7 separate regions of the Homo sapiens genome follow, and regions 2, 3, 4, 5, 6 and 7 are each linked to region 1. Evidence: promoter capture Hi-C in 16 types of primary human blood cells and fetal thymus (Javierre and others, 2016). All regions are on one chromosome and are shown on one strand. The core of a region is centred on a gene start or on the middle of the fragment in contact, and the rest is flanking DNA. Distances in the headings are between cores, read along the strand shown.

Evidence for each region. The method cuts DNA at HindIII sites, captures the fragments that hold promoters and counts their contacts. A CHiCAGO score of 5 or more calls a contact.
Region 2: a fragment that was not itself captured here is called in contact with the fragment with the promoter of KRT33B in region 1 in 2 of 17 cell types (M1 macrophages and erythroblasts); the score reaches 5.5 in M1 macrophages.
Region 3: a fragment that was not itself captured here is called in contact with the fragment with the promoter of KRT33B in region 1 in 1 of 17 cell types (M2 macrophages); the score reaches 5.4 in M2 macrophages.
Region 4: a fragment that was not itself captured here is called in contact with the fragment with the promoter of KRT33B in region 1 in 1 of 17 cell types (endothelial precursors); the score reaches 5.3 in endothelial precursors.
Region 5: a contact is called between a fragment that was not itself captured here and the fragment with the promoter of KRT33B in region 1, in 1 of 17 cell types (erythroblasts). The highest score is 5.8, in erythroblasts.
Region 6: a contact is called between a fragment that was not itself captured here and the fragment with the promoter of KRT33B in region 1, in 1 of 17 cell types (erythroblasts). The highest score is 5.9, in erythroblasts.
Region 7: a contact is called between a fragment that was not itself captured here and the fragment with the promoter of KRT33B in region 1, in 1 of 17 cell types (M0 macrophages). The highest score is 5.7, in M0 macrophages.

What each region holds. Positions count from the first base shown.
Region 1 is chr17:41,368,269-41,371,291 of GRCh38, reverse strand. It overlaps KRT33B (keratin 33B), which reads left to right and starts at 1,479. Exons shown (of 7, transcript NM_002279.5): 1 at 1,479-1,889. The coding sequence starts at 1,542. The HindIII fragment of the contact is 2,505 bases long and covers 370-2,874 here.
Region 2 is chr17:40,694,906-40,697,908 of GRCh38, reverse strand. It overlaps LOC105371775 (a long non-coding RNA gene), which reads right to left. Exons shown (of 4, transcript XR_934751.2): 4 at 69-453. Among named protein-coding and RNA genes, the nearest start is that of KRT24, 7.3 kb to the left of the region's middle. The HindIII fragment of the contact is 3,749 bases long and covers 1-3,003 here.
Region 3 is chr17:40,768,401-40,771,302 of GRCh38, reverse strand. It overlaps KRT26 (keratin 26), which reads left to right. Exons shown (of 8, transcript NM_181539.5): 2 at 67-149; 3 at 894-1,050; 4 at 1,181-1,342; 5 at 1,424-1,549; 6 at 2,207-2,424. Among named protein-coding and RNA genes, the nearest start is that of KRT26, 2.3 kb to the left of the region's middle. The HindIII fragment of the contact is 1,403 bases long and covers 784-2,186 here.
Region 4 is chr17:40,677,114-40,679,888 of GRCh38, reverse strand. All of the region lies in intron 1 of LOC105371775 (a long non-coding RNA gene), which reads right to left. Among named protein-coding and RNA genes, the nearest start is that of KRT222, 13 kb to the right of the region's middle. The HindIII fragment of the contact is 1,182 bases long and covers 863-2,044 here.
Region 5 is chr17:40,733,343-40,736,308 of GRCh38, reverse strand. No RefSeq gene overlaps it. Among named protein-coding and RNA genes, the nearest start is that of KRT25, 21 kb to the left of the region's middle. The HindIII fragment of the contact is 590 bases long and covers 1,160-1,749 here.
Region 6 is chr17:40,751,493-40,754,192 of GRCh38, reverse strand. KRT25 (keratin 25) reads left to right here. Exons shown (of 8, transcript NM_181534.4): 3 at 177-333. Among named protein-coding and RNA genes, the nearest start is that of KRT25, 2.5 kb to the left of the region's middle. The HindIII fragment of the contact is 2,758 bases long and covers 53-2,700 here.
Region 7 is chr17:40,813,911-40,816,833 of GRCh38, reverse strand. It overlaps LOC105371776 (a long non-coding RNA gene), which reads right to left. Exons shown (of 4, transcript XR_934753.2): 4 at 2,706-2,886. Among named protein-coding and RNA genes, the nearest start is that of KRT10-AS1, 3.8 kb to the left of the region's middle. The HindIII fragment of the contact is 213 bases long and covers 1,144-1,356 here.

The sequences.
Region 1 (3,023 bases), core at 230-2,729:
GAATGTGTCCCAAGCTGTGAAGGCAAGTTTGAAGGAAGGGTGATCTGAGGAATGGCAGGTCACCTGTAGGAAAAGAATTCTTGTATGGCAAGACTTAATATGTAGCTTCCAAAAGGAACAACTTGGAGGAGTATCTTTCAGAATTTGAGCACTGATAGATTAAACATAAAATCCTCATATTTCATAGTTCCATCTGGAATGCATGAGAGTAGAGCATCTGCTTGCCAAAATGTGCCAATGGTCATAAAATGCCACTTCATGCACATGACATAGTGGTGGATTTTCAGGGTCATATCCTTTGGAGAGCTAGGCTTGGGTATTTCTCCCTCAGATCAACCAAGGGTTTCCTTTTTTTTTTTTTTTCAAGCTTCTAGTGGGTATGAGGCATTTTCACTTAGTAAACTTCCTTCCTTCAGCATAGAAGTGACTTTTGGTTCTTTAATAAGTAAAAAACAGGCTTGTTATTTTTTGGCCCATTCTAATTTAGGATATTGTCAGCACTGATTGAGCTCAATGGAGCTCAATCTGTATTTTTTGCATTATTGCATCTCAGTACTGAAAAGATTGGAAGAGAGAGACATGTAATATGACAGAGTGTGGACATTGGAATTAGAGAGATCTGTATTTGAACCCTGGCTCCATCATGTAGGAGCTCTGTGACCTTGGGAGACCTCTCAGAGGCTTAGGGTCCTTATCTACAAACCCTTGCAGCATTTTGAGAGGACTGAAGGAGCTGGTGCATATGAGGTGCCTGGCACTGTGCCTGGTGCACAGTGGAGGCTCAGCAAGCAGGACCCATCACCAATGACAGAGTCACGCTGTGCACAGGCATGGAGCACAGTGCTTCATGCAGAGTAGGTGCTCCCAAAATTTAGGTTTCTTAATGTTCTGTGAACACTGAATACTAGTAGAAACGGAGGTGGGTGGCTTCCTGCAGCCCCATAGGAAGAGGGTAGAGTTGCCTCCATCTGCCTGGATGGAACTGCAAATGGGCCTTGAACCAATGGCCTTGTAAGTCCTTTCTCATTTCAGCTTCCAGGATTCCCTATCACATAGTCTAGTTTCTAGACGGGTTTCCTTACATGGCTTTTCTCACAGAGTCTTAATTGAATATGAACTGGATGAGACACAAGCCTTTCCTCATTTAGGAGAAAGAGGCACATATGTGCCCCCTACTCTGGGGACAGGGCCCAGCTGTCACTCTAGCTCAATGTCCCATGGATAAGCACTGCTACAGGCAAGGTTGGTCACTTTGAAGCCAAACCATGAAGCTCTTACTTAACCAATCAGCATGTTTTGTGAGGAGTCCTGACTTAGCAAGAAGCCAGAGTAAAACATTTAATGAGGTATAGGACTCAGGTGAAGTGGCTAAATAACAAATGGAAAAATCAGCAAAGGAGGTAAAAAGGAGGAATACTTGACATGGTTGCCACACCCACTGCTAACAGAATATAAAGCCCTGGAAAGGACCAAGGCTTATCCCAGGGAAAAGGAATCAGGTTTTGAAACTGACTTCCAGAGCTCCACTGCCTCCCTGCACCATGCCCTACAACTTCTGCCTGCCCAGCCTGAGCTGCCGCACCAGCTGCTCCTCCCGGCCCTGTGTGCCCCCCAGCTGCCACGGCTACACCCTGCCCGGGGCCTGCAACATCCCTGCCAATGTGAGCAACTGCAACTGGTTCTGCGAGGGCTCCTTCAATGGCAGCGAGAAGGAGACTATGCAGTTCCTGAACGACCGCCTGGCCAGCTACCTGGAGAAGGTGCGTCAGCTGGAGCGGGACAACGCGGAGCTGGAGAACCTCATCCGGGAGCGGTCTCAGCAGCAGGAGCCCTTGCTGTGCCCCAGCTACCAGTCCTACTTCAAGACCATTGAGGAGCTCCAGCAGAAGGTGAGGAGGTGGGCACCACACTGCCAGCTTAATGAACTACTTATCTATATTTGACATACTAAACTGTGAATGGATCTAAGTCTGTTCACAGTAATGCTGAGAATGATAAAGACATAGATTCACTGGCTTAGGTATGACATCAAGTAGTCTTAGAAAATCTGTTGTAGAGCCACAAAGGAAGGATGCAGGCTGGTGTTAGAGTGAAGCATTAGACCAAAATCAGTCATAGCAATCTTATATGGCGTCTTACTCCAAACCAGAATATCTGATTTTTTGGTTTGATTATGATACCCTGGTTTTGTTTTCAGAGCATTACCGCATTTTCAAAAAGTATGCACCTGAATTATTTTCTATGCTAAGAATTTCCTAAGTAAATCTTCAAATATTTAAAGCCTTTCAAAGCTGTAGCAAAATATAGCATTTATGGCAACACAAGAGAGCTGTTGACTCCAGCAATATCTACAGACACATGGACCATCCTCTAGAGCAGCCATGTGTACAGATGACAATATGGGGCCATCTGTTCTGGAAGAGAAGTAGATATAAGTAAAGAGTCCACAGAGAATTGGGACTGAATACCTGGTGTAGGTTTGGGAGGGATCCCAGAAGAGGCAATGTCTGAGTGGGGTTTGAAGGATGAGTGGGAGTTTATATCCAATTGTACAAGCCCTTGATTCTGGGAGGGAATTGACTGCCCACTGTTCTGTAGATCTGGAAAATTAGATGCCAGAAAGGGGTTGTGCTATTTGAATATCATTCATTTATTTACCCAGAGTTGGAGAGTGTTAGGCACAGTGCTGGGGTGGGGGATAATGTACTGAGTAAGACAGTCTCCTTCCTTCAGGAGCTCACAGTCTAACAGGGGAGATAGATGTGGAAACAAAATGATCACACAAAGGTCATAAGAAGTGTTATTGATTAAGTATGTGGGTTACACAAGGGGTCTTGCTAGTGGGTGAGGGCATTCTGGGTACAGCAAGAAGCTTTTTGCAAAGGCATGAACAAGGGCAATATGAGGGGAGAGTGGAGAGAAGTTAGCAGGTGGAATGTGTTGGATAACCAAGTTGTTCTGGCTTGCCTGGGATTTTTCCCATTTTAGCATCCCAGAAACCCCTCAGTCCTAAGTTAACTGGG
Region 2 (3,003 bases), core at 409-2,908, 670 kb after region 1:
GTCAGTTCATTCTTTATATCTTACTGTTGTAACTGAGCGAGTTATAGAGAAATGACACACTCTGAGACTAATTCAGGAGTCCTTTTATTGCCGGCGAACAAGACGGCTAGAGCTCAAAATTCTCTCGGCCCCGAAGAAGGGGCTAGATTTCTTTTTATATCGTGGTCTAAATAGGGGAGAGGGAGTTTAGCTGAAGCAATTTTTACAGAAGCAGAACAGGCAAACCAATTAAGAAAGATTAATTGGTTACAGAAACAGTTACAGAAAAGTAAACAGTTCCAGGTGCAGGGGCTCAAACTATCACAAAGAGATAATGCAGGGGCTTTGGGTGCCATCCCCCAAGCGCGTCCTCAGGAACTGCTGATTTAGCTTGCCTCGATATCTCATCAGTAAGCGCATTCCTGGATGTGCTCGGAGTCAGCTTGCACTACTTATGCCTTTAAGGGAGGGGAGCTGCAAGTGAAGAAACAAAAATGGAGTCTGTCCGGCTCTCTCAGCTAAGAGAGACAATCAGGTTAAAACGAGGTAGGGTATCACATTACCTTCTTTATACAATTCAGATTATAGTCATTTTTTTAATGTGGGCATTTTTAATGGCATCACATAAGAACTCAGTGGCATGATAGCTGAAATTAGACTACCGTGTCAACGGCTTAGCCCACAAAGAAGGATGTGATTATTTTAATAATCAACTTATAATTAATGTCTAGTTTATATATGTCCATCACTGAACTCGATATTTTATAAGATAAAAAAGAAACTCAAAATCTCCCTCCTACTTCAAAAAGCTCACATTTCAGCAGAGAAGAAGAGCTAAAACACAAAGAAGACAGCAAGCAATAAAAAGCTGTTAATAGTAAAGACTTGATTTCACAATCTGCATCAGAAGTGACATAGGAATCAGACATGTGTGTTTACAGGACATTTAGGACAGGGGCCAAAAAAGAGTCTTGGGAAATAAGATTGGCTATGTGATATGGCAATCTGATTTCCTGAAACCTTGAAAGCCCCAAAGAGAAGAGATCCTCAGGCACTTGTTCCCCTGCCAAATCTAGCCACATCTTTAGCCAAAACCTGCCACTTCGCCAAGCTGGTGTTTCTTTTCCCCAGTCTCCACTGCTAAGATCTTTCATCCCGTTGGTGGTCATAGCCCTATTCTTTCATTTCTACAGTATCCCTGAGGCCACATGGCTTTGTCTTGTCTTGTTTGGGATGATGAAACCTGTTAAGATTGGGTAGGAGGTGGTACGGGCCCCAGGAAGAACCAGGCATAGCACCAACCCAGGCTGGCTAAGGGCTTTCTCAATCAAGGAATTTAATATGCCCATATCACAAATTAGAGAATCAACTCTACAAGCCAGTCCTCAAGGAAAGAACACGGGACGTGGCATAAAAAGCCAAATGTAAAGTTATAAAAGGACAAATCTGAACATGTATCTTCCAATATAAAACCAATTAAGAATTGTGTGAGCATATCAAACCTATCATCAAAACATGTAGTTTTTCATCTTCTGGGCACATTGAATAAAACTTAAAATGAACCTCTGGGTACATTATGACTTCTGCTTAAATAGCTAACCACAGAATAAGGTTAATAGCTAACCACAGAATAAACATTAAACCACTACTCAAAGAAAAAGAGCAATGTTAAGTTGCTTAAGTCAAAGCTGTTTTCCACCATCAAATCATTACAATAAATAAAACCCTGAATGCTTCTTCTCTGCTGAAATACTAAAAGTCTGAACCAGCTCATCCAACTGGATTCATAGCTCAAGAGCAGAAATGGAAATCTGCCGTAAGCAGCCTGCAGAACCTAAGCCATCCCGGCCACATCAGCGAAGCCTCTCTCTGTGGGTCTTCTCAAGTCTAACCTTCTAGCTGTGGATTTTGGCCACCTGAGACCTATGTTCATGGCTAGTACTATTTTCATGTCAAGGCAAAAGTATAAGGCTACTCTGAAAGTCATCTCGAGGTGAAAACCCTCATCTGTTCTTCCTTGTCATGCGTTAAGATGCTGCGTTTGTACTGAATGATTGTTTACAAATATAGAAAAGGCCCAATCATAGACACCAGAACACTGAGACACAATAGAATGTGTTGTTAAGGGCATGTTCAATTTTGAAAACTGAAACTATTCAACCATTTTGGATCATAAAACGTATTTACAGTGCTGAATAAAAAGTTAAGGACATGGTGTTCATACATTATTACTTGCCTTAAAATTATTTTAAAACTCTACAATAGGAATATGTTTATTGTGAGACCCTAAAGTTCAGCTCTCCAGGCAATTTTTTTGCTTTGTTTTGTTACAGGGTCTCGCTCTGTTGCCCAGGCTGGAGTGTAGTGGTGCCATCTCGATTCACCTGCAGCCTCAACTTCCTGGGCTCAAGCAATCCTCCCACCTCAGCCTCCTGAGTAGCTGCAGGCAACCATGCCCAGCTAATTTTGTTTATTTTTTGTAGAGATGGAGTTTCACTATGTTGCCCAGGCTGGTCTCAAACTCCTGGGCTCAAGCAATCCTCCCACCTCGGCCTTCCAAAGGGCTGGGGTTATAGGCATGAACGACTGCATTCAGCCTCAACTTTTGAATGAGAGGAACACATTTCTTTTTTCTAAGAGTGGATTTACTGTAAGAAGGGAGAGCTCATGCCCACATGCACATGGGCTTTCTTTTTTGTTTGTTTGTTTTTTTTGAGACAGAGTCTCTCGCTTGTCGCCCAGGCTGGAGTGCAGCGGCGCGATCTCGCCTCCACCTCCCAGGTTCAAGCGATTCTCCTGCCTCAGCCTCCTGAGTAGCTGGGATTACAGGCACGCGCCACCAAGCCCAGCTAATTTTTGTATTTTTAGTAGAGACGGGGTTTCACCATGTTGGCCAGGCTGGTCTCGAACTCCTGACCTTGGGATCCGCCCACCTCGGCCTCCCAAAGTGCTGGGATTACAGGCGTGAGCCACCGCACCCAGCCTCGCACATGGGTTTTCACCCGTTGACTTTTAATCCAGAGA
Region 3 (2,902 bases), core at 236-2,735, 600 kb after region 1:
ACACTGAAGTCTGGAGCCTCCTTTGACTTTTGGTAATTAACATTTTTCACAATCTTCCCTATTTAGATTATTTCTGCGACCATCTGCAATGCCAGCATTGTTCTACAAAATGACAATGCCAGACTGACCGCTGATGACTTCAGGCTGAAGTAGGTGAAAACAAACTGATTAATTATATTAATAAAAGTTAAAATATTACAATTGGATTAAGGAATATATATTTTGCTTTGAAAACCAAAATGTTTTTCTAAAGCCAGACTAGATCAATAAAGAAATTGAATTAAATAAGCCGTTATAAAAAGAGCTATCATGGTTGGATAGAGTAGCTCATGCCTGTAATCCCAGCACCTTGGGAGGCTGAGGCAGGCAGATCACTTGAGGTCAGGAGTTTGAGACCAGCCTGGCCAATGTGGCAAGACCCCGTCTCTACTAAAAGTACACACACAAAAAAATAGTCAGGCATGGTGGCTCACTCCTGTAATCCCAGCTACTTGGGAGGCTGAGACATGAGAATCACTTGAACCCGGAAGGTGGAGGTTGCAGTGAGCTGAGATGGGGCCACTGCACTTCAGTCTGGGTGACAGAGTGAGACTGTCTCAAAAACAAACAACAAAAAAGAGCAATCACATATTTTTTAAAATCTAAAATCTAGCAATATTTTATTTAATTGTTAAGCACATTGGATGACAAAAATCAGCTCTGAAGAAATAACATCCCCAAAATACAATTCATGAATTGTTAGGTATCTCAAACCATTTTAGCAGTTTGCCATTGCAAGAAGCTTCAGAGGTATGTACAGAACATCATATCTTTCAGCATATGAAATACCTTAAAAAGTTGTGCTTTGCACCTGCCTACGATGACAACTCTCAGGTGCCTTACTAATCTTTCAGGTATGAAAATGAGCTGGCTCTGCACCACAGTGTTGAGGCCGACACCAGTGGTCTTCGCAGAGTGTTGGATGAACTGACCCTTTGTACAACCGACCTGGAGATACAGTGTGAGACCCTCAGTGAGGAATTGACCTACCTCAAAAAAAGTCATGAGGAGGTAAGGAAGCCTGCAGAGTGGCTTCATACAGTTTCTAATTTCCTTCTTGAAGTCCACTGTTCATTTCGTAGCAGGGCATGAACATCAATCAAAATCCTCCACTGAGGATGAATACCGATCCCTTTTCTAGGAAATGGAAGTCTTGCAATATACAGCTGGGGGGAACGTGAACGTGGAGATGAATGCAACCCCAGGAGTGGACCTAACTGTCCTGTTGAACAACATGAGGGCTGAGTATGAGGACTTGGCTGAGCAGAACCGCAAAGATGCTGAAGCCTGGTTCAACGAGAGGGTAGGTCTATGGCAAATTACAAAGGGCTTGCTCAGGAGACAATCAGGCCAGTCACTAACCCTTTCGACAATTACACTTCAGAGTGCAACGCTGCAACAACAGATTTCCGATCATGAGGGAGCAGCCACAGCAGCCAGAAATGAGCTGACCGAATTAAAACGCAATCTGCAAACCCTGGAAATAGAACTTCAGTCCCTCATGGCTGTGGTACGTAGGAATCGCCATTGAATTGAATATATGTGTGAATATGTATAAGTCAATACAGATATAAAAATACATATAACACCAAGTACGTATAACCATTTACATATGACTAAAAGTATAAAATATATTAAATATCAAGAATTCTGTCCCTAAACTCACCAATTCCAAAACTTGAAAAATGCCTTTTTACAATAGAGGAATTTTTTTAAATCTTGCAAATGTTGATTTTCAATTGAAAATATTCAGACCTTATACAAATAATTATTTCTACCTTGAGAATATTTAAAATATGACCATGCCGGCCAAGCACAGTGGCTCACACCTGTAATCCCAGCACTTTGGGAGGCCACGGCAGGTGGATAACTTGAGGTCAGAAATTCAAGACCAGCCAGGCCAACATGGTGAAACCCCATCTCTACTAAAAATATAAAAATTAGCTGGGTGTGGTGGCATGTACCTGTAATCCCACATACTCAGGAGGCTGAGGCAGGAGAATCACTTGAACACAGGAAGAGAGGCTGCAGTGAGCCAAGATCATGCCACTGCACTCAGCCTGGGTGACAGAGCAAGACACAGTCTCAAAAAAATAAATAAAATAATATAAGATGACCATGCCATTTCTCTTTTACACATTCAAGCTTCACTTTGCTTTTCTTTCAGAAACATTCCTATGAATGCTCCTTGGCTGAGACTGAAGGAAATTACTGCAATCAACTCCAGCAAATTCAGGATCAGATAGGGGTGATGGAGGAACAACTGCAACAGATTCGAACAGAAACAGAAGGCCAGAAGCTGGAGTATGAACAGCTTCTTGATGTAAAAATATTTTTAGAAAAAGAAATTGACATTTATTGCAACTTACTAGATGGAGAAGAAAGGTAAAGATTAACTTGCAAAAAAAAAAAAAAACCTCACATTAACTAGGTTTTCCCACAGTATAGGTATGCCAATATTGCATCCTAGAATTTCCTACTCTGGAGATCATACATATTTATCCTCAGGAATGTATATTATTGCAGCCAAGTGAAATTAAAACATGCAGAAATTTGAAAATCAAATTTCTAAGTATGCAAAATATTTGTATGTATAATATATAAAGGACATTTAAATATAGAATATTTAACAATTCCAGTACTCCAATTCAAGGGGAAAATTGCTTTCTGTGATTTAGTGTGTAAGCACATTTCTTATAAATAACTCATTCTCTTTTCTTATCACTTCACTAGTTACCCCACATGTACCTTGTATTAAAGATGAGCAATGAAGATATAGGAAGAATTAATTGGAGAGGCACCATAGTTTCTTAGTCAATAGCAACAGCCCTGGAATTGCAGCCCTGGCTGTGAATCAAATACT
Region 4 (2,775 bases), core at 204-2,703, 690 kb after region 1:
AATGTATTATTCATAGCAAAATTTCTATCCACATGACAAACATTTAGAATCAGAGTGCATTTCTAAAATCACTTTACAACTAATAAAACTCTAGAAATTCAGAACTATATATGATATTTTGAGGTGTTAATTATCTCAACCGAAGAACCACAACAGGGAAGTCCTTTCTATAAGTGAGTCACACAAAAAAAATACATACATGACATATTTAGACACAAATTATGCAGTTAAGTGTGTCTTGTAGATACCCTACTCAATTTAAAAACCATGTATTGATCATTTACAACATGCAAGTACAGTAATAAGGTAACATAGCTAAATTATCAGAGGTATCAAAGAAAAAGCACACAGTTGAAAAAGTGGTGAATTCTGGTTGTTGTTTGTTTGTTTCCTCAAGCTCTAAGATTGACACTTAGGATTTCTCAAAGACAACTGAAAATGTTTTCCTAATTCTGAAACAGTACTGACTTCAATGACCATCTCTTTTGAGGTATGAGGCACAGGAGGGAGGGGAACAGGGTTGAAAAACTAACTGTTGAGTACTATGCTCAGTACCTGGGTGATGGGATTACTTGTACCCCAACCCTCAGCATCACACAATATACCCTGGTAATAAACCTGCACATGGACTCCCCTGATTCTAAAATAAAAGTTGGAAAAAAATAAAAAAGGTATGAGTCACTCGTTTTGTGGCTACTTGCAGAAGTTTCAAAGATAATGATTTTCAAAGGTAACAAAGCTTGTGACACTGGTATGTCAGCATATCATCACATTTCATTTCTGAAGTCAGCAGTGAGAGATGGCGCCAAGCCACCAGTGAGAAGAGACGTTTGAAAAAAACAATTAAGAAGGAACTGAAGCTTGATGGATTAGCATAATGAATTTTTCTGAAGGCAACAGTGTGAAAAATATTTGTAAAGGTGTGGCAGAATCTGAAATCACGAATCATCTATTCTCACCCTGACAACAGTTTTCTTTTTCATATAGGCTGGACTAAATTTCGCGAAGTTCATTAATTTTCAAATGTAATTGTTTGCAATTTAAGCCAAAAGACATCTTAAAATCTGTTAAATTTTTTAACGTGGGACAGTGATATAAGAAGCCAAAAAGAAAGAAAAGTCAAACTGGGGGGGCCAAAAAAAATAATTACCAGGAAATAAGAAGTGTTCACAAATTTCAGAACGCTTTGTCTCACCAAAGAGCATAGTATTACAAAACTACAGTCTTCAAGAAAATAGTAACTATGTTAAGTACTGAAGCAGAAAATAAGTTATGCACACTTTTATCTTACTACCAGATTATTTTTCACAGATAGCACAAAACTTATTGATTGCTAACTATCCAAATGTATGGTAATAAACTAATATAGCTTAACTATCAAAGGTATCATATAGAACCATACAGTTGAAAAAAGGATGGATTCTGTCTTAGTCGTTAACACTGAGAATTTATCAAAGAGAACTGGAAATTAATTCTTTCTTTCTTTCTTTCAAAATTGGGTCCTGCTCTGTCACCCAGGCTAGAGTGCAGTGGTGAGACCATAGCTCACTGTAACCTCAAACTCCTGGGAGCTAGGACTATAGGCATGTGCCACCATGCCTGGCTAATTTTTTTTTTTTTTTTTTTTTTTTTGGAGAGACGAGGTCTTGCCGTGTAGCCTAGGCTGGTCTCGAACTCCTGGCCTCAAGCAATCCTCCCACCTCAGCCTCCCAGAGTTCTGGGTTTACAGGTGTGAGCCACTGTGCTTGTCCTGGAAATGTTTTTCCAATTCTCAAACAGTGTTGATATCAGTGACTACCTTTTTCAAGGCATGAGTTGCTAGTCTTATGGCTATTTAAGGAGGTTTCAAAGACAATGATTTTGGGGAATAAAAACTAGTGTTTTCTCCAAGCATTCGGAATTATTTATGGAAATAGAAGTATTATATTCATGTAAAATGATATGGTCTATAGATGTAACTTAGTTGCCTTAAACTGTGTAATTGCTGGTATACCATATTAGTGTCTTTAATCTGAACACAACCTCACATCCAAGAGGAAAAGCTTATCATTCACAACAGTAATTCCTGAGTGAGCTACTCCTCTCTAATTATACAATTAGAAAGTCAAAACAAACTTGAACCTTGCAATGTATATTCCCAGAACTCAAAACATATTTTTAAGAGAATTTTAACAGTAATCAACTCCTTTTCAAGACAAGATACAAAGTCAATAAAAGATTGCCTACTTTAATATTCATTTGTTTGTTTAAAAACATTAAGCACTAAGTCTAAGGGGCTGGTGGGACGACGGAAATGGGGCAAATTTTAAAGAAATGTAAGACACGCACTCTTTGCCCTTAAGGACAATCTGGTTAAGAAGAAAACAATTACCAAGTATATTTAACCCCACTTAAAGGTGTGAGCAAATAAAATTTTGTTAATCCATATATTTTAAATACTGTGCATTTAATAGCCAAGGTCAGGTGCTATCTCTTCTGTGAAGCCAATGGGAAAATATAATTTTAAAAAAAAATTTGTACAGCCACAATTTTGTTTGTAAAATTTCTCTTTGTCAAAAACTCAACTGTACACTTCTGGAACACCAGTTTCTATGCACCCAGTAGGCTCAGAAAGGAGTCCCCGTGGATATACATGTGTGCCGCGGCTGTGCAACATGGCCCCCGGCATGACACAACAGTGAAGCAGCTGGAAGGTGCTCAAATACTCAGACTGGCTGGGAAGTTGAAAGCAAGGGAAGAAGAGAGGGATGGGGAGAGAACAGCAGCTGTCAGGGA
Region 5 (2,966 bases), core at 205-2,704, 630 kb after region 1:
AAAATATTTCAGAAACCATTTGTAGCCTCAGGAATGGCCTAGTGGTTGTACATAGAACTATTTCCACAATTCCAGGTGATCAATTTCCAGGGCATGAGAATGTGATCAGGAGCGGTAGTCCTATGAGGATTCAGACTACAGCTGAGTGGTTCCAGCCTCAGTGAGCAGGTCAGAGCACCATGGCTTGGACCTTTTCCTCTAATTCATTTTATTAATGCATCAAAGGAATATATCAAGCTAAAGAAAATGTAGTCCCTTACTTGTCAGAGAAGGCAACACTGAAGAGTGGTTAAGGGAACAAGCCTCGAATTTTCTGGATTTAAAACTATTTCTACCCCTTTCTAGCTGTGTTTTCTTGGGCAAGTTATCTGATTACCTTGTCTCTCAATTTCCTCACCTGTAAAATGGTGATAATAATATTAACACCTATTCAGAGAGTTGGTGTGATGATTAAATATCTAATCTATGCGCTTTGGAGAGTGTCTGGTTCATATTAAACCCTCAATCAATGTAGCTACTACGGTGAAAAGGAAATAAAAATTTAAAAATTAATTGTATGTTATCAGAGAAGTTTAAAGATAAAAGAGAGCTTAGAGACTAGTCCGTGTCATTTCCCCTTGAGGAAACTAATGCCCCATGAGAAGTGGTTGATTCAGAGGCATTTCTAGTAAGAAGAATGAGAGATTTCATCTTATCAATTCTCTTACTTATTTATTTATTTTTGTAGAGATGGGGTCTCCCTATGTTGCCTTGTCTAGTCTCAAATCTCTGGGCTCAAGCAATCCTCCCTCCTTAACCTCCCAAAGTGCTGGGACAGGCATGAGCCACCACGCCCAGCCTTATCAATCCTCTTAAAGGTGAATGACAATTCTCCCTACTTTACCATAAGACTCAGACAATGAGTTGAATAAATTAGCCAATTAAAACAAAAATATTCAGGAGAAAATGACCTAGTTCCAATGACTGTGTTGCCAAAATGGCAAGTCTACAAAGAACATACAGAGAGCACTGTTCCTAATCCTGTCCTCTGTGATACTTATACCTGCAGGAACACGGCACTCATTGCAGCCTAAACCTTCCTGCTCAGATGGGAGGTTCTATGTGGCAAGGTGGTTAACATGCCTGAACTAGTGTCAAAGGTAGGAAGTAATTGAAAGCTTTCCAAAAAGGGAAGAAAAATGTAACCACATTGGTTCTTGAGGGCATTCTGCTTAATATGGAAAGAGGTATATTTATATACCTAAGAGAGCATGGCTATAATTTGTAAATTACCTAGAGGATTTAGTAACTGAAACATAACCAGAAGTCCTCACTCTCCACCAGTTTACAGGGATCCATGAAGTCTTCTTAACATTGATGCACTAATTTAATTTTTCTAGTTATTTAGTTGCCACCTATAAAAAACTACATACAAAACCTCTGGCTACCAGTCTTTTCCACTATAATTTAATGCTCTGCACTAGGCCACTGATACTCTCAAGTCTCATGATATGCTACAATTACTTGGAAGTTTCTATCCAAAAAGGGAGAAAAGAAACACCCTTCTACTTTTTCTGAGCTCCATTCTATAGGGGTATGTTGGGGCCCCCAAGACCATCCTCAATTTCAATGGTTCACTAGAAGGACTCACAGATCTCAGAAAAATGTTATACTCATGGTTATGGTTTATTACAGTAAAAGGATACACATTAAAATCAGCAAAGGCAAAAGGCACATAGGGCCATGTCCAGGAGAGACGAGGCATAAGCTTCCAATTGTTCTTTCACATGGAGTCACAAAAAACAGCACTTAATTCTCCCAGAAATGATGTGTGACAATGCATACATAGTAATGTCAACCAGAGAAGCTTGCCCAAACCTTGGTGTCCAGAGTTTTTATTGGGGGTCAGTCACTTAGGTATGGGACGCCCACATGGTTCACCTCAGTTACTCAGTCTGCAGCCCCTCCAGAAGTCAAACTGATACAGCGTAGCCCAAGAACGCCACTATAAGTCACACTGTTAGCATAAACTCTCTGCCGTGGCCTAAAGCCCCAGGTATACAAAGACACTCCTATCAGGCAGAATATTCCAAAGCTGAGAGCTTTTTCCCCAAGAGCTGGGTAAGGGCTACGCCTTTCTTTGGTATGTGCAAGATCTAAACACCCCAAGCCTGCTGAGTTAACCCTTTCCTGCAGAAGAGGTCTCCTGTGCAGAGCCCCAAGATAGTACGGAGTTTCACTTCAGCACATTCATCCCCTACAAGTCCTACCCCCAACTGCCAGCATGCATGAGCACCCCACACTCAAGCCCTCCATACCCTTGGACATCTAGGCTCTGTCGTCACATACAGCTCATAATGGAGTCCATCCTTCCTTAAAATGAGTTCTCTTGGGCTGGGCATGGTGGCTCATGCCTGTAATTCCAGCACTTTGGGAGGCTGAGGCAGGCAGATCACCTGAAGTCAGGAGTTCGAGACCAGCCTGGCAAGCATAGTGAAAACCCATCTCCACTAAAAATACAAAAATTAGTTGGCGCAGTGGCAGGCACCTGTAATCCCAGCTACTCAGGAGGCTGAGGCAGGAGAAATGGCTGAACCCAGGAGACAGAGGTTGCAGTGAGCCGAGATCATGCCACTGCACTCCAGCCTGGGTAACAGAGCAGGACCCAGTCAAAAAAAAAAAAAAAAAAAAAAAAAAAGCTGCACACAGTGGCTCATGCCGGTAATCCCACCACTTTGGGAGGCCGAGGAGGGCAGATCACGAGGTCAGGAGTTCAAGACCAGCCTGGCCAACACAGTGAAACCCCGTCTCTACTGAAAATACAAAAATTAGCTGGGCCTTGTGGTGGGCACCTATAATCCCAGCTACTGGGGAGACTGAGGCAGGAGAATCGCTTGAACCCAGGAGGCGGAGGCTGCAGTGAGCCAAGATTGCGCCACCGTACTCCAGCCTGGGTGACAGAGCAAGACTCCATCTCAAAAAAAAAA
Region 6 (2,700 bases), core at 182-2,681, 620 kb after region 1:
TTTTTCTGTCAAATACTGCAAAGTAGAAACAATAATTATTATACAACAAGCTTTGAAAATGCCTCTTGTGGCCAAATCTTCAAAATTCCAGAATGCTAGCATTTGTCATTGATCAGTGACTAGTGACTATGTCTCCAACCATGTGACAAATTAGGAAATCATTAACACTCTTTAAGGTATGAAAATGAGCTGGCTCTTCACCAGAGTGTAGAGGCTGATGTCAATGGGTTACGAAGAGTTTTGGATGAAATAACCCTGTGCAGAACAGATCTGGAGATTCAGTATGAAACCCTGAGTGAGGAGATGACTTACCTCAAAAAGAACCATAAAGAGGTAAGAGCTGGTCGTCTACATTTTGCTATCCCTCCGCAGACACTGTGCACCTGACAGGAGATAATGTACATAACCTCTCATATAAAAAGTTGGTGCTGAAGACACATTGTCAGACAGACATGAGGGCTGAGCTGTCTTTTTTTTTTTTTTTTTTTTTTTTTTTTTTTTTTTTTTTTGAGACGGAGTCTCGCTCTGCCGTCCAGGCTGAAGTGCAATGGTGCGATCTTGGCTCACTGCAAGCTCCGCCTCCTGGGTTCACGGCATTCTCCTGCCTCAGCCTCCCGAGTAGCTGGGACTACAGGCGCCCGGCTAATTTTATGTATTTTTAGTAGAGACGGGGTTTCACTGTGTAAGCCAGGATGGTCTCGATCTCCTGACCTCGTGATCCACCTGCCTCAGCCTCCCAAAGTGCTGGGATTACAGGCGTGAGCCACCGCACCCGGCCTGAGCTGTCTTTTTAAGTGTCAGATTCTTTGTACAGATTCACCCTTGCTCTCTCATCAAGTTTCCTATGGGGAAAAAAAAAAACGAATCATGTTTTCCAGACCAATCAGGGTTATAAGAGCAGTGTTTGGCTGTGTAATTATAACTAAGTTAAAATGATCCGCTTTGGACATTAAGTCTAATTAGATAAAATAAATATAAAATAAATATACTTTAAGGCCATCCTTAAACTAGAAAACTAGATCTCAATTTCTAAATGACAGTGGCAGATTTAAAACACTAAAACATTTACTTCATACACACATTAAGTATACATACTTAACGCTAGTACATATTCTTAATAGGTCTGGCTGTAAAAATAATGAGCATGAAGTTAAACTATTATACCAGAATTTACACTTAATCATAAACTTCCAAAGTGGTCACTGTTGGAAGCTAAGTTCCAAATTTTATATTGCAGCAATTACATCTTTAGGATTGCTTTCAGAGGCACTGTTTTCCAAAAGGGAAAAATCTTTATCCTTTGAAAATAAATTTGATATTTTAAATAGCCAAAAGACTTCTATGGTCAAGCCAAATGCTTAAAACAGAAGATCAAGCTAAGAATCCTACTTGATTAGTCATGAGGCTGTCTTATAAATATAACTACTTGAATAACATTGATTTGACTACGTGGATTCAAATATAGTTACAGCCCATGGTGTTTAATCAATTTTTGATGAATCAAAAGCAATTGATTTTTGTAATGCCTCATTTACAGGCAACCCTAGATATAGATATAGATATAGATATATAGATATAGATGATATACATATATCTTTTTTTATCTTTTTCTTTTTATGCTTGAACCAGGAAGTTTTCACTAAATCCTCAGAAGTAAAAGCCACATCTGTAGATCAGGAAGACATAGTTTCAACCAGGAGGAAAGAAGGCTGGAATGGCTGAGGGGCTCGCTGCAGGGAGGAATGAAAGCCTTAGTTACCATCATTAAGACCAATTCATGAATGGGGAGGAGAGTTTCTGCAGCAGACATAAGCTGATGGGTGGTATTCCAATATACACAGTCTTCGCAGCGATGCCTACCATTCACAATCTTAGAACTGACTCACACATTCTAACAGCTTGCAGTTCAGACAGGGTAACATGTAGACTTTGACTGCAAAATAAATTCCAGCTTCCATGATGATAATAATCATAATAACCAGCATTCATTTAGCATTTATGTGCAAGGCAGTATCACGGAGTCTTATTATTATTATTAGTTCTTTGACTTCTTTTAACAACTCAGAGAAGGGTTTTTAATTATCCTCAATTTTCAGATAAGCAAATAGAAACGTAAAAAGGTTAAGCAACTTTCCCAAACTCACTAGCCACTATAGGGCAGAACCAAAATTCAGAGAGATCTGCGTGACTCCAAAGTCCAACATGATACTGTAATGTCCCTGTATAGACTTAATAGACAGCTGGGATTCTTTAGGGGATGATGTTCTTCCCTGAGGGGTACACACACACACACACACACACACACACACGCACGCACACACACACACACACACATACATTTATTTATTTATCATCATTTCAATTGTTCAGAATTATTCATACTCAACCCTTCAACCATGTTCATGGCTGTGCTCAGGGTGTAGCTGAGTTAACACTGCACCAAAGCTGGCCTCTAGTGGAAGGAAGACCAGTCCACAAAGGCCGAGAATAGAATAAGCGATGGAGGACCATTCATTTTAAATGTTTAAAACTTTCATATGGAAAAGGAATTAAGATGCATTCTGAGTAGTAGAACTGAAACTGATGAGTTTAAGTTATAAGAGCAGGAGTTTGGCTCACTATAATAAAGAACTCTGGAACAATTAAAACTCTCCCAGAATGAAACAGGCTACTTCATAAGGTAGTGAGTTCACCGTCTTT
Region 7 (2,923 bases), core at 1-2,500, 550 kb after region 1:
ATTCAATACCACTGATACGAGGCAAGTACACATATGTTACTATGAGATAGCAGTGCTTGCTGTTAAGTTTGTCTCTTCTACCCATTCTGCCCTCCTCCCCCAGGCCACAATCTTAGCAGTCAGAGTCCTCTATGTGGTTGGATGGTGACCCAAACTTTCATTCCTGAAAAGTCTGCATACATCGTGGTCCTGTCTTCTTACCATTTCAATCTTGCAATACCTCCTTAAACAATTATTTATATTCTCTCTGATAAAGTAAATACTTTATCTCAGATAAACAGCTGCTTTCTTGATTGGACTTGGATAACTATGGTTTGTTTTTGCTTTTTTTTTTTTTTTTTTAATGAGACAAAGTCTCACTGTGTTGCCCATGCTAGTCTTGAACTGGGCTCAAGCAATCCTCCCACCTCAGTCTCTGAGTAGCTGGGATTATAGGCACATGCCGCAGTGCCCAACACTATGGTTTAATAAAGATAATCTGTCTAAATAAGCCACTTGTCTTTAATAAGGACATTGGTATTTATAGTAAAAAAAATTACAGAATTATTTTTAAAAATTATTAAATAGCACAGGGCACTATTTTTACCAAATAAATTTGCATGTACCTATTAATCAAAAAATTCTGTATGCATTCTTACAGATTCTAAAGTCATTACAGAATCCTGCTATTTAAGCAGGGTAGTGCCTAATTAGATTGGCAGAGCCAATTCGGCACCCATGTCAAAAAATATTACACGATAAAATCCTGTTTCCCCAAAGATGTTCTCTTATGATGCTAAAGGCCTAAAAGCTTTGCACCCTAATCTTGGTGCCCATGATGGCTTGATATTTTGCTTGGGAGTGAAGAAATAGCTTTGTTAGGGTCATCTTTATCAGGGAAGTAACTCGATTAAGGTTAAATAGGATGCATCTAATATTTCTCATCTATATTGCATTTTGAGAATGGGAATTAGGGAAAGAGCTTATTCATGGTTTATGAGCATGCAACTGAAACACAGTGATCCCTGGACTTCCTATCCTGGCACTGGCATTTACAAATTATGTACCTTTGGACAAGTTACTTCAACCCTTCTGAGTCTGTTTACTTACCTATACAATAAGGGATAGCTACCTTATATGAGGTAGTTGTGGTTAAACTAAGCTTGACAATGAAAATAATGATAATAATAGCCTTTAAATCACACCGGGCATTGTTCTGAGTAAATGATGGATGGATAGATAGGTAGGTAGGTGGGTAAATGTGTGGATGGATAGATAGATAGATTAGATAGATAGATAGATAGATAGATAGATAGATAGATACAGATAGGTAGGTAGACTCAGTACATATAACATGTATATGAACTCATTTAAGCTTAGCTACTACCCTACAGTTTATTTTCAACACAGAACCATAGTTATCCTTTTAAAATGTAAGTCTAATATATTAGATCAAATTGTAAGTCTAATTATATTTGATCAAAATTCTTTGATGTCTCTCCATTTCTCTTTTGATGTTACCTTGGTTAATATTCTTTAACAAGATGGTCTTCCTTACCTCCTTCAAGCCTTTGCACAGTTGTCACTTTTTCTTTGAGACCCACTCTGATTTTCCGCTTAAAATTTTACCTGCCAATCTCCCAACTCCCCTATCTGCTCCACTTTTTTTATTATTATTATACTTTAAGTTCTAGGGTACATGTGCAGAATGTGCAGGTTTGTTACGTAGTTATACGTGTGCCATGTTGGTTGGCTGCGCCCATTAACTCGTCATTTACATTAGGTATTTCCCCTAATTCTATCCCTCCCCCAGCCCTCTACCCCACAACAGGTGTGTGATGTTCCCCACCCTGTGTCCATGTGTTCTCATTGTTCAACTCCCACCTATGAGTGAGAACATGTGGTATTTGGTTTTATGTCCTCGTGATAGTTTGCTCAGAATGATGGTTTCCAGCTTCATCCATATCCCTGAAAAGGACATGAACTCATCCTTTTTTATGGCTGCATAGTATTCCCTGGTGTATATGTGCCACAGTTTCTTAATCCAGTCTATCATTGCTGGACATTTAGGTTGGTTCCAAGACTTTGCTATTGTGAATAGTGCCACAATAAACATACGTGTGCATATGTCTTTATAGTAGCATCATTTATAATCCTTTGGATGTATACCCAGTAAAGGGATCGCTGGGTCAAATGGTATTTCTAGTTCTAGATCCTTGAGGAATTGCCACACTGTCTTCCACAATGGTTGAACTAATTTACACTCCCACCAACAGTGTAAAAGCGTTCCTATTTCTCCACATCCTCTCCAGCATTTGTTGTTTCCTGACTTTTTAATGACCGCCATTCTAACTGGTGTGAGATGGTATCTCATTGTGGTTTTGATTTGCATTTCTCTGATGACCAGTGATGTTGAGCATTTTTTCATATGTCTGTTGGCTGCATAAACGTCTTCTTTTGAGAAGTCTGTTCATTTCCTTTGTCCACTTTTTGATGGGGTTGTTTTTTTCTTGTAAATTTGTTTAAGTTCTTTGTAGATTCTGGATATTAGCCCTTTGTCAGATGGGTAGATTGCAAAAATTTTCTCCCTTTCTGTAGGTTGCCTGTTCACCATGATGATAGTTTCTTTTGCTGTGCAGAAGCTCTTTAGTTTAATTAGATCCCATTTGTCAATTTTGGCTTTTGTTGCCATTGCTTTTGGTTTTTCAGTCATGAAGTCTTTGCCCATGCCTGTGTCCTGAATGGTATTGCCTAGGTTTTCCACTTTTTCTTTTTTTCACAGCACTGTTTCCAACTTACTATACAATGTATTCATTATTAGTCATCCTTTTCCCCTGCTAGACGGTACACTCCAGAAAGACAACGCTTGATCTTCGTCTACTTTATCCATTCATGTATCCTGAGGCACTAGAACAGTGACTAACACAGGTTAGGTACCAAAAAT